2 separate regions of the Homo sapiens genome follow, and region 1 is linked to region 2. Evidence: promoter capture Hi-C in 16 types of primary human blood cells and fetal thymus (Javierre and others, 2016). All regions are on one chromosome and are shown on one strand. The core of a region is centred on a gene start or on the middle of the fragment in contact, and the rest is flanking DNA. Distances in the headings are between cores, read along the strand shown. Region 1 holds the start of KLRK1-AS1 (KLRK1 antisense RNA 1). Region 2 holds the start of EIF2S3B (eukaryotic translation initiation factor 2 subunit gamma B).

What was found. Contacts are between HindIII fragments. The CHiCAGO score rates a contact against its expected background, and 5 or more counts as called.
Region 1: a contact is called between a fragment that was not itself captured here and the fragment with the promoter of EIF2S3B in region 2, in 1 of 17 cell types (total CD8 T cells). The highest score is 6.0, in total CD8 T cells.

Annotation. Positions count from the first base shown.
Region 1 is chr12:10,361,343-10,366,617 of GRCh38, forward strand. KLRK1-AS1 (KLRK1 antisense RNA 1) reads left to right here and starts at 2,427. Exons shown (of 4, transcript NR_120430.1): 1 at 2,427-2,691. RefSeq lists enhancers at 1-125, 2,898-2,947, 3,408-3,477. The HindIII fragment of the contact is 1,966 bases long and covers 2,827-4,792 here.
Region 2 is chr12:10,504,324-10,509,086 of GRCh38, forward strand. It overlaps EIF2S3B (eukaryotic translation initiation factor 2 subunit gamma B), which reads left to right and starts at 1,567. Exons shown (of 1, transcript NM_001357734.3): 1 at 1,567-4,202. The coding sequence starts at 1,580. The coding sequence ends at 2,998. All of the region lies in intron 3 of LOC105369657 (a long non-coding RNA gene), which reads right to left. The HindIII fragment of the contact is 5,298 bases long and covers 1-1,817 here.

The sequences.
Region 1 (5,275 bases), core at 2,560-5,059, 140 kb before region 2:
AGAACAGGAAGAAGAGGGCAGGAATTGCCATGATTGGGTAGACCCAGTTTCTAATTGCTGGCATTCGCACATCAAAGCTTGCCAGGCAGCTCTAAGAGCCAGCGCTTTCCTGCTAGACAAGAAATGTTTCTGGAGCTGCCTTAAAAGAAACAAAAATTGCCCAAGGACCCCTTTTTTTCCCTATCTGCCTAAAAGAATTTCTTAGTAACTCCTATAATAGTATGTCAAAGTAAAAATAAAAATGCAGACACAAATCTCTAAATGTAGTGTTTTATTTGGGAAGAAAGAATTGCAGTTCAGGGCATACACGTGGTCTTCGGTATCTCCAAAGAGCAAAGAGAAGGTTAGAGGTTTTACATATTGCTTTTTGAGAAAGTTCATTGATATTTGTAAGGATTTGGTGAGCTGGCAAGCTCCGATTTTTGCGTGACAACAGTGTGAGCAAACATTAGTTCTAGAGTTGCAGTAAGCTACTTCAGAAGCTACAGATAAAACTGGTTTCTGGTTACAACAGGCAGTTTCAGCAGCCAGGCTTGCAGATAATTACATTCTTGGAGCAATGCTTTGTACCCAGAATGTTTTCCCACTGGATTCTCCACTCTGTTTTATTTAGTTATGAAAAGAATTACTCAATTTTTATAATCAACTTTCACACCTAAATTACCTCCCAAAGGCACCTCCTAATACTATACCATTGGGAGTTAGGATTTCAAATATGAATTTCAGGGAAACAGAAACATTCTGTCCATAACATTCTGCCCATGGCAAAGTTTATGTTCTTTTTGCCTGCATTTATTCTGTAAAAAGTAAAGTAGAGGTTGCTCTTCAAAGACTTTCCTCCCTAACTAATTAGGAATAAATAGTAACTTCTCTTAGAAGCAAAATTTATTCAAAGACCTGTGCTCCTAAATATTTGCCCTGGCATGCTTATACTGGTCCAAGCAAGCATTAGGTCATAGCCTGTTCCTCTTCCTTATTTAAAAGTGTTTTTACCTTTCTCAGCATTCCACAAGTTACTTCCTCCTTCCTTTGTTCTCCTCTACCTTTGCCTCTTTTAAAAAGTTCTAAATTGCTAGCCAGTCGGGACAAATACAGAATGTGAGGTCCTGTTCCAGTCAATGGAAACTGGATACAGCAGTAGGGTGGATGCGGCAGGTTATAAATGATGCTGTCTCCTTTGTTTGGTGTACACTCGTGGCAAAACTGCTGATGAGTATACCCTTTCTGCAGGAAGTAAAAAAAAAAAATGGCCACACTAAATAAATCTATGTTCAAGTGCTATTTTTTTATGGCACTGGGGAACAAGCATTTCAAACAATTTGGTGGCAGTCTGTATGGGGATACATTCTCCTCCAGGGGTGGTCTCCAGTCCTCTCTCATGAGGGAGTGCACTCCCCTACCTCATTGAAGGGGCCCTCAGGAATGACAAATTGAGACAAATAAACCCAGACTCTCAGCAACACAGAGAGAAAAAAAAAAAAAAGAAACTGGCCAGCAACCTAGCTTAAAGGATCCTCACATACTGTGGCGACAACTTTGTGCACAGGCCAAGAAAGAAGAAGCTGTGGGAGCCAATAAAGTATTTCCTTGGTGATCGGGACTAAAAAAAAAAAAAAAAAAAAAGCCACAGGACGGTAAAGCATTCCTTAGTTAGGACGTACCAAGGAGAGAGAAACTGCAGGGTCAGTAGATTATTCCTTAGTCGGGATGTCTTGGAGGTTAAAAATAGGTGAGAAATCCCCATAGAAGGGGTGTTGAACCTCAGAAAGAGGTGAGAAATCCCCATGAGGCGGGTTGAACCTCAGAAAGAGGTGAGGAATCCCCATGGGAGGGGGGCGTTGAACCTCACACAAACTCCCAGTAGTAAGAAAAATATTCAGAACCCCCCTTTCCTTTCTTCTTGGGGGAAGAAAGAATAGCCCCACTGCCACCAGTCCCTTCCCTAGGGAAAGGGGAAGGAGGGGGAAAACAGCAGCATAGGTGGCTGGCATGGAACAGGAATTAAAATAAATTACAGAATGTGTAAGCAAAAACTCAGTTGTATATAAGAAAACCCAATTCCCCCCTGAGGAAGAGAAAGAGCCGGAGTCCTTTAAAAATTAACTGCCTGTTTTCTGTGGCTAGTGAGCCTTATCTCTCCCTTTCCCAGGCATTATGAAGACCCTATTTCTCTAGCTGTGCAGCTGCAAGGTCACTAGACAGATAAACTCAAGTCATAAAACATGTTTTTCCTTGAAAAGAAATGATGTCATGTATGTCTCAATTGAATAACTGTCTTTGTTTCTTGCTTCTGTTATACGCTTCCCCCTGCACAAATCTTCCCCCACCCACGAAATGCTTAAAAGGTAACTTGACTCTTTGTTTGGGGCTCAGTCCTTTGGATGTTAATCCAAGTGGACCAGTGCACCTAAATAATAAATATCCTCCTCAATCCCTTGGTCTCTCTGATTCCTTATATATCCCGATACATTTCTGGGGGCTCATCAGGATTGGAGATGACAGATTTACTGTCCCCTTTGCCTGCGATACTAGGTCCCCGGGGCCAGGAGAGACCCGGCATCCAAGGTGTGCCACAGCTGAGCTTCACCCGGATATATAGACCAGCTCTCCCCACGTCCCAGCACCCTGCCTGGCAGCGCAATGGAACCGAGGATGGGGCTGCAGGACGATACCAGCACTTCAGGAACTGTGGTAAGGAGTATAGGCCCAAGGCAGGAAAGCCCGTCCCATAGGGACAAAGGGGAGCTTGATCACCTCCCAGGGACTGACCACTAATCCAACCCAGAGTGGCTGGGGGCAGCAGGAGTGGCCTGCCAATTTGGATGAAGCTTATGTCCCCACTAACAAAGTGAAAGTGGTTCACTGGATCTGGAGACAGGAACTGGGAGTGGTGTGTGTATGTGTGTGAATATGGGAGCCTAACTAGGCTCACCCAGGTCATGAGAGAGGCTCATTCCATCCGATGAGGACTCCTGCAGTAGGAGTGGTGTATGTGTGTGAAAGTGGGAGCCTAACTAGACTCACCCGGGACATGAGAGAGGCTCATTTCGTCCAATGAGGAATCCTGGGGCAAGGAAGGTGTGTGAAAGTGTGTGAAAGCGATGGTCTCGGGAGAGGCCAATGCAGGGAGTGACGTGGGGAGGCACAGATCCCTTAGCACGGGCTGTGTGCTCTGAGGCGAGTGTGGGGGGAAATCAGACCTAGGACATTGCATACAGCTGATAGGACGAGCTTTGCAGCTGTAGCAGGCTGTGACAGGGGAAGACACCTTCCTGGCTAAGCAGTGTCCGAAACTCCTGTAATAGGACCGGGTCTGCTGGACCTGAGAGTGAAAGTGAGAGTGAGAGTGAGAGTGTGCCGCAAGGGAGGAAATGGGAGGGAAAGCGTCAAAACCAACTCCTTTGGAGTGCATGATAAAAATTTTAAAGAAAGGATTTAGAGGTGATTGTGGGATGAAACTGGATGTTCAAAAGTTAAAGACATACTGTGAATTACAATAGCCCTCTTTTAGTGTCAGATGGCTGGCCGAAGGCACTGTAGAGAAATTGGCCGTGTGTTTTAAGGTGGTGACTAGGGTCGGAGGACAGCCAGGGCATTCAGACCTAGTCTTTATATTGACTCATGGCTAAATGTACGCAGCCCTGCCTAGCAGTTTATTGTAGAATGCTCGCAGCTCACGCCGAGATAAACCAACTGTGCTGGCAGCTACGGAGTTAAAGGGAAAGTCACAGAGGCTTCTAGCACCACCGATCCAAAAGTGAAAGTGAAAGTCAGCTGCCCTGGAAGCTATGCAGACCAAAAAAAAAAAAGAGTCTCAGGAAAGAGAAAACCAGTTTTGCAAGAATCACAGGATGGAATAGAGATCCTTCCTACCTATATTCCAATCTATCCCCCCTTACCAAGGCTAATTGCCCCTAAGGAGGTAAGTTCAAACAGATACATGCTCCCACTCTCACCTGAGAAGGAGAAATCGGAGCTCCAGGAAGTTAAAACGAAAGGCTCAAAAAGGTAGGCAGGCCGTCTCAGGTCAAGTCATGCCCAAGTTATGCTTCTGCCTCTTAAGAGGACAAGCAGACCCCCACTAGGACCCAGACGATGCAGTCCAGCTTCAGCACCTACAAAAGTGCCGAGAAGCACTTTTACAAAGGCTAAAGGATGTTAAAAGGAAAAGGCAACCAATATAAAAAAATCTCAGAAGTGCTCCATGGTGCAGATAAAAGCACCAGCCAGTTTTATAGGCATTTTGCTTGTACACTCTGTTTAACCCCGAGGCTGCTGAAAATCAGTGAATAGTAAATACGGCATTTGTAAGGCAGGCCCAAGGAGATATCAGGCATAAATTGCAGAAGTTAGAAGCTCCGTAGGTGTGAATGCTACTCAGCTTATTAAAGTGGCTACCAAGGTGTACATTAACTGAGACCAGGAGGCAAAGAAGAAAGCTGATTGGAGGCTTAATAAAGGCTTATTTACAAGCAGCAGCCCTTATGGGAAGAGAGGCTGGCTTTGCAAGGAGGCATAGATGCGGGTGTGAATGCAGTTGTGGAAAAGGCTAGTCTGGACAGCAATTTGAAAGCCAGCCAAGGCTAGAGAGAGATTAATGTACATGGTGCAAAAGAAAAGGACACTAGAAGGATAAATGTCAAAAGAATAAGGAGAATGGTCAAGGCCATGGTATGAAAAAACCACTGGCCAAGGGCTACTGCACCCAGGAGAAACCCAAGACTGCTGTGAAAGGCAGGATATAAAGGGTCAGAAAAAAGCTCAGATCTGCTCGAAAAGTGTCCAGTACTTAAGCTTTTACATAAGCCAAGAGGAAAGATGGCTTAGTAGTGAACAAAAGCAGGCTGTTTGTGCACTTCCTACTCCAACCACCTGGCGTCGAATAACAGAGTTCCTAAGGGCAGCAAAGTTCTTCCGCATTTAGATCCCAAATTTCTTGCTTGTGGCTAAGCCATTATACAAAGCCACAAAGAGGAGGAAAGAAGGACTCCTCCTCTAGGAGGCCAACCAGAAGAAGGCTTTTCAAAAAATCAAAGAAGCCTTGACTCAGATCCCAGCTTTAGGACTGCCAGATCTAACTAACTAAGCTTATCTTCTTGAATGTCCACAAGTGAAAGGGAGGCCATAAAGATTCTAACTCAAGCCATAAGGTCATGGCATTGCCCAGTGACACACTTATCCAGGCAGTTAGATTCTGTGGCACTTGGATGGCCTCCTTGTTTTAAAGCACTAGCTGCTACTGCCCTACTGGCACAAGAAGCTAATAAACTGACTT
Region 2 (4,763 bases), core at 317-2,816:
TATATATATGGATACATTCACATATCCATATATTCATTCATATATACCCAGAAGAAGGAGATGAGCCATCCTCTCACTTTCATTTATTACCCTCTTCCTTAAAACGAATATATCCATATACATATATATGAAGATATATATATATATATATATATATATATATATATATATATATATATGTTGGTAAGAATGTGAAGAAATTGGAACCCTAGCACATTGTTGATAAGAATGCACTATGAAAAAGGTGTATAGAGCTTCCTCAAAAATTAAGAGTAAAACTACCCATATAACCCAATAATATCACTTCTGGGTATACAGTATATCCAAAAGAATTAAAATTAGTATCTTGAAGAGATATCTGCACTCCCACATCAATGGTAGGATTATCAAGAATAAATAATATTTAAACAACCTAAATGTACACTGACAGATGAACAGATAAAGAAAATGTAGTATGTACATATGATGGAATATTCTTCAGCCTTAAAGAAAGAATATTCTGCCATTCATGACAACATGAATGACCCTTGAGGACATTAAGCTAAATAAAATAAGCCAGTCACAGAAGAACAAATGCTTTATGATTATACTATATGAGTTATCTAAAGTAGTCAAATTCATAGGAACAGAGAATGGTGGTTACCAGGGACTCACTTTCAATTGGTTAAGTTTCAGTTACGAAAGACGAATAAGTTCTAGAGATATACTGTACCACATAGTACGTATAGTTAGCAACAATACGTTGATCACTTTAAAATCTGCTAGGAGGGTAGATCTCATGTCAAGTGTCTTACTTGCCCTCTGCTCCCAAAATAAAGGTACTCAAGAAAAACTTTGTAGATGATAAACATGCCTACTATCTTCATTGGGTGATGGTATTACGAATGTATGCATATGTCCAAACTCATCAAATTGTATACGTTAAAAATGCACAGTTTTTTTGTATATAAACTATACCTCAATAAAGCTATTGTAATAAATCTCCAATATAGCATCTATTAATGGTCATCACTCCAACATAATTTGAAGAAATGAAAATTATAATATAAACCACGACATAGCTATTTGTTTCGAACAAAAAATAAATATATTAATAATTAATCTTCTTAAAGAAGAAAAATATTTAGTGTAGAATTATTCAGTGTGTTGCTGGTTTTGTGTCTTCTTAGAAATGTAATAGCAGGCTGTATATACAAGATCCATTTTCATATAAATAGATTACAATGGTCCATTAATTTTTTAAGTATTTATCTGTGGTCAACTGAAAATATATTTTCGACCCGCCTCGCATGGGCCCAGGGGGCGGGGGTTTGGGTGGCTGCCCTCAGTATTGCCTGCACAAATATCTACCAAGTCTGCGACGAATAGCTCCAGCAACTTTGCACCGTGTTTTCCAGTAAGCCTACCGACAGGCACTGTGCAGATTCAAGCAGAGAGAAGTCCAAGCACTGAGGCCGCTGCTGCACCGGCCATCCTGAGACCCTAGTCGACCTTCCGGCCTCCGCATCCCCGCCCCGCACTAGGACCCCTGCAGACGATCAGGCGGCAGCCGGGGTGACTTTCTTCCTCTTTTGGCAACATGGCGGGCGGAGAAGCTGGGGTGACTCTGGGGCAGCCGCACCTTTCGCGTCAGGATCTCACCACCTTGGATGTTACCAAGTTGACGCCACTTTCACACGAAGTTATCAGCAGACAAGCCACAATTAATATAGGTACAATTGGTCATGTAGCTCATGGGAAATCCACAGTCGTCAAAGCTATTTCTGGAGTTCACACCGTCAGGTTCAAAAATGAACTAGAAAGAAATATTACAATCAAGCTTGGATATGCTAATGCTAAGATTTATCAACTTGATGACCCAAGTTGCCCTCGGCCAGAATGTTATCGATCTTGTGGGAGCAGTATGCCTGATGAGTTTCCTACAGACATTCCAGGAACCAAAGGGAACTTCAGATTAGTCAGACATGTTTCCTTTGTTGACTGTCCTGGCCACGATATTTTGATGGCTACTATGCTGAACGGTGCAGCAGTGATGGATGCAGCTCTTCTGTTGATAGCTGGTAATGAATCTTGCCCTCAGCCTCAGACATCTGAACACCTGGCTGCTATAGAGATCATGAAACTGAAGCATATTTTGATTCTACAAAATAAAATTGATTTGGTAAAAGAAAGGCAGGCTAAAGAACAATACGAGCAGATCCTTGCGTTTGTCCAAGGTACAGTAGCAGAGGGAGCTCCCATTATTCCAATTTCGGCTCAGCTGAAATACAATATTGAAGTTGTTTGTGAGTACATAGTAAAGAAAATTCCAGTACCCCCAAGAGACTTTACTTCAGAGCCCCGGCTTATTGTTATTAGATCTTTTGATGTCAACAAACCTGGCTGTGAAGTTGATGACCTTAAGGGAGGTGTAGCTGGTGGTAGTATCCTAAAAGGAGTATTAAAGGTGGGCCAGGAGACAGAAGTAAGACCTGGTATTGTTTCCAAAGATAGTGAAGGAAAACTCATGTGTAAATCAATCTTTTCCAAAATTGTTTCACTTTTTGCGGAGCATAATGATCTGCAATATGCTGCTCCAGGCGGTCTTATTGGAGTTGGAACAAAAATTGACCCCACTTTGTGCCGGGCTGACAGAATGGTGGGGCAAATACTTGGTGCAGTCGGAGCTTTACCTGAGATATTCACAGAATTGGAAATTTCCTATTTCCTGCTTAGACGGCTTCTAGGTGTACGCACTGAAGGAGACAAGAAAGCAGCAAAGGTTCAAAAGCTGTCTAAGAATGAAGTGCTCATGGTGAACATAGGATCCCTGTCGACAGGAGGGAGAGTTAGTGCTGTCAAGGCCGATTTGGGCAAAATTGTTTTGACCAATCCAGTGTGCACAGAGGTAGGAGAAAAAATTGCCCTTAGCCGAAGAGTTGAAAAACACTGGCGTTTAATTGGTTGGGGTCAGATAAGAAGAGGAGTGACAATCAAGCCAACAGTAGATGATGACTGAAGAATACCGGTTAAATAATACATTCGGATGGAGCTGGAAGTTGCAATTTCTCTTTAACAACCAAGGGGTTTATTTTCAAAGCGATATTGGGGAATTGATTTCACAGTTTGTTACCTTAGTAGGTAACGGTAAGGTTATTCTCTCTTTTTTTTTTTGGTTATGAAAACTTAGGGACTACAATTAGTATAAAAATTGGCATAATGTTGGATTGAATCTACATTTTGGCAGAAGTTAAGCATTCCCACATAATGTCAAAATTATACATTATGCAGTTTTTTTGTTTGTTTTATTTTGTTTTGTTTTTGAGTCTGGCTTTGTCACCTAGGCTGGCATGTAGTGGCATGATCTGCAATCTCTGCCTCCCAGGTTCAAGCGATTCTCCTGCCTCAGCCCCCCAAGTAGCTGAGATTACAGGTGTGTGCCACCACACGGGGCTAATTTTTGTATTAGTAGAGACGGGGTTTCGGCATGTTGGCCAGGCCAGTCTCTCCTGACCTCAGGGTGATCAGCCCACCTCGGCCTCACAAAGTGCCGGGATTACAGGCGTGAGCCACCTTGCCTAGCCCACATCATGCAGTTTGAAATGAAACTTTGCCACAACCAGCCTTTGCTGTAGCACACACATATATCACTGAAACTGTTCGAAATAAAGTTTTTTTTTGTTTTTCATGATTCGTCTTTGAGTACCTCCAGGCTGAAGGACTGTTGTACCAGTAAAAACTTAAAGGCACAAATTATCCTTGAAGACCTTCTCCCTTTTCTTTGGCCCCATATTTTATGTTGCTTTATCTTTGAAATTTTGCATGAAAAGGATGCAATGAATGGGTTCGAATTGCATGAAAAGGATGCACGAATGGGTTCGAATGAAATTGTCCTTTAGAGCATGATTACTTGTTCCCATGGGCAAATAATTTTCTCCCCTTGCTCTTCCTGGCCTGAAATACGGGAAACTAGAGTCAGAAGTTATCTCCCTCTCCCTGTGATGCCTTGAGATGTTTTTCTGCATTGTTTTATGCCTGAAATCCAATAGTCTTCCTCCATTGGAAAATACTGTTATACCAAATAATTCTAGATGAGTAACAAAGATCCTTCTAGGCCTTCATTTTATGTTTTTTCTTAACTGTTATATGATTGTGACACAGATTATAATATTACTAATTTTTGGATGTTTCAAAAGGTCAATAAGTAAAAGATGTTAGAAAGCAAAAAAAAAAAAAAAAAAAAAAAAGAAAATATATTTTCTATCATGTTCTTCTGATAAAGTAATTCAAACTTTAACCAGCCCTGAAGACGGCATTGTGATTATACATCCCTGGGTTCTCCTGCTGACCTAAAGTAATATTAATCTCCATATATAACATTAAAATATATTCCCTTATTAGCTTAAGGGAATAAATGTGAATAATCAAATTTTTTCTTTTGTTAGTGTAGGGCAAATTAAAATTTTTCTGCTTTTTAAAGTTATGAAACCATAGACTCATAGAAAAAAAATTCTTCATATACAGGATTTAAGTATAAAAACTTGCGTGTACATATGTGTATATAAATTCTTAGAAAAGTTGTTAAAATCTCTTATATGTTAAAGCACATGAGAACCGTCAGATAAAATCTGACCTCCTTCAAAAAATCTAATATTTATGTGAGGGTAATATTAATACAATACTTATCTTCTTTGTTTCTCCATTTTATGTTGAGTGTTGAGGAGCAAATTAATTGTCTTTTAGAAAGTGGCATTCTTGCAGTGGGCAGCCTGTCTGCTACTTAG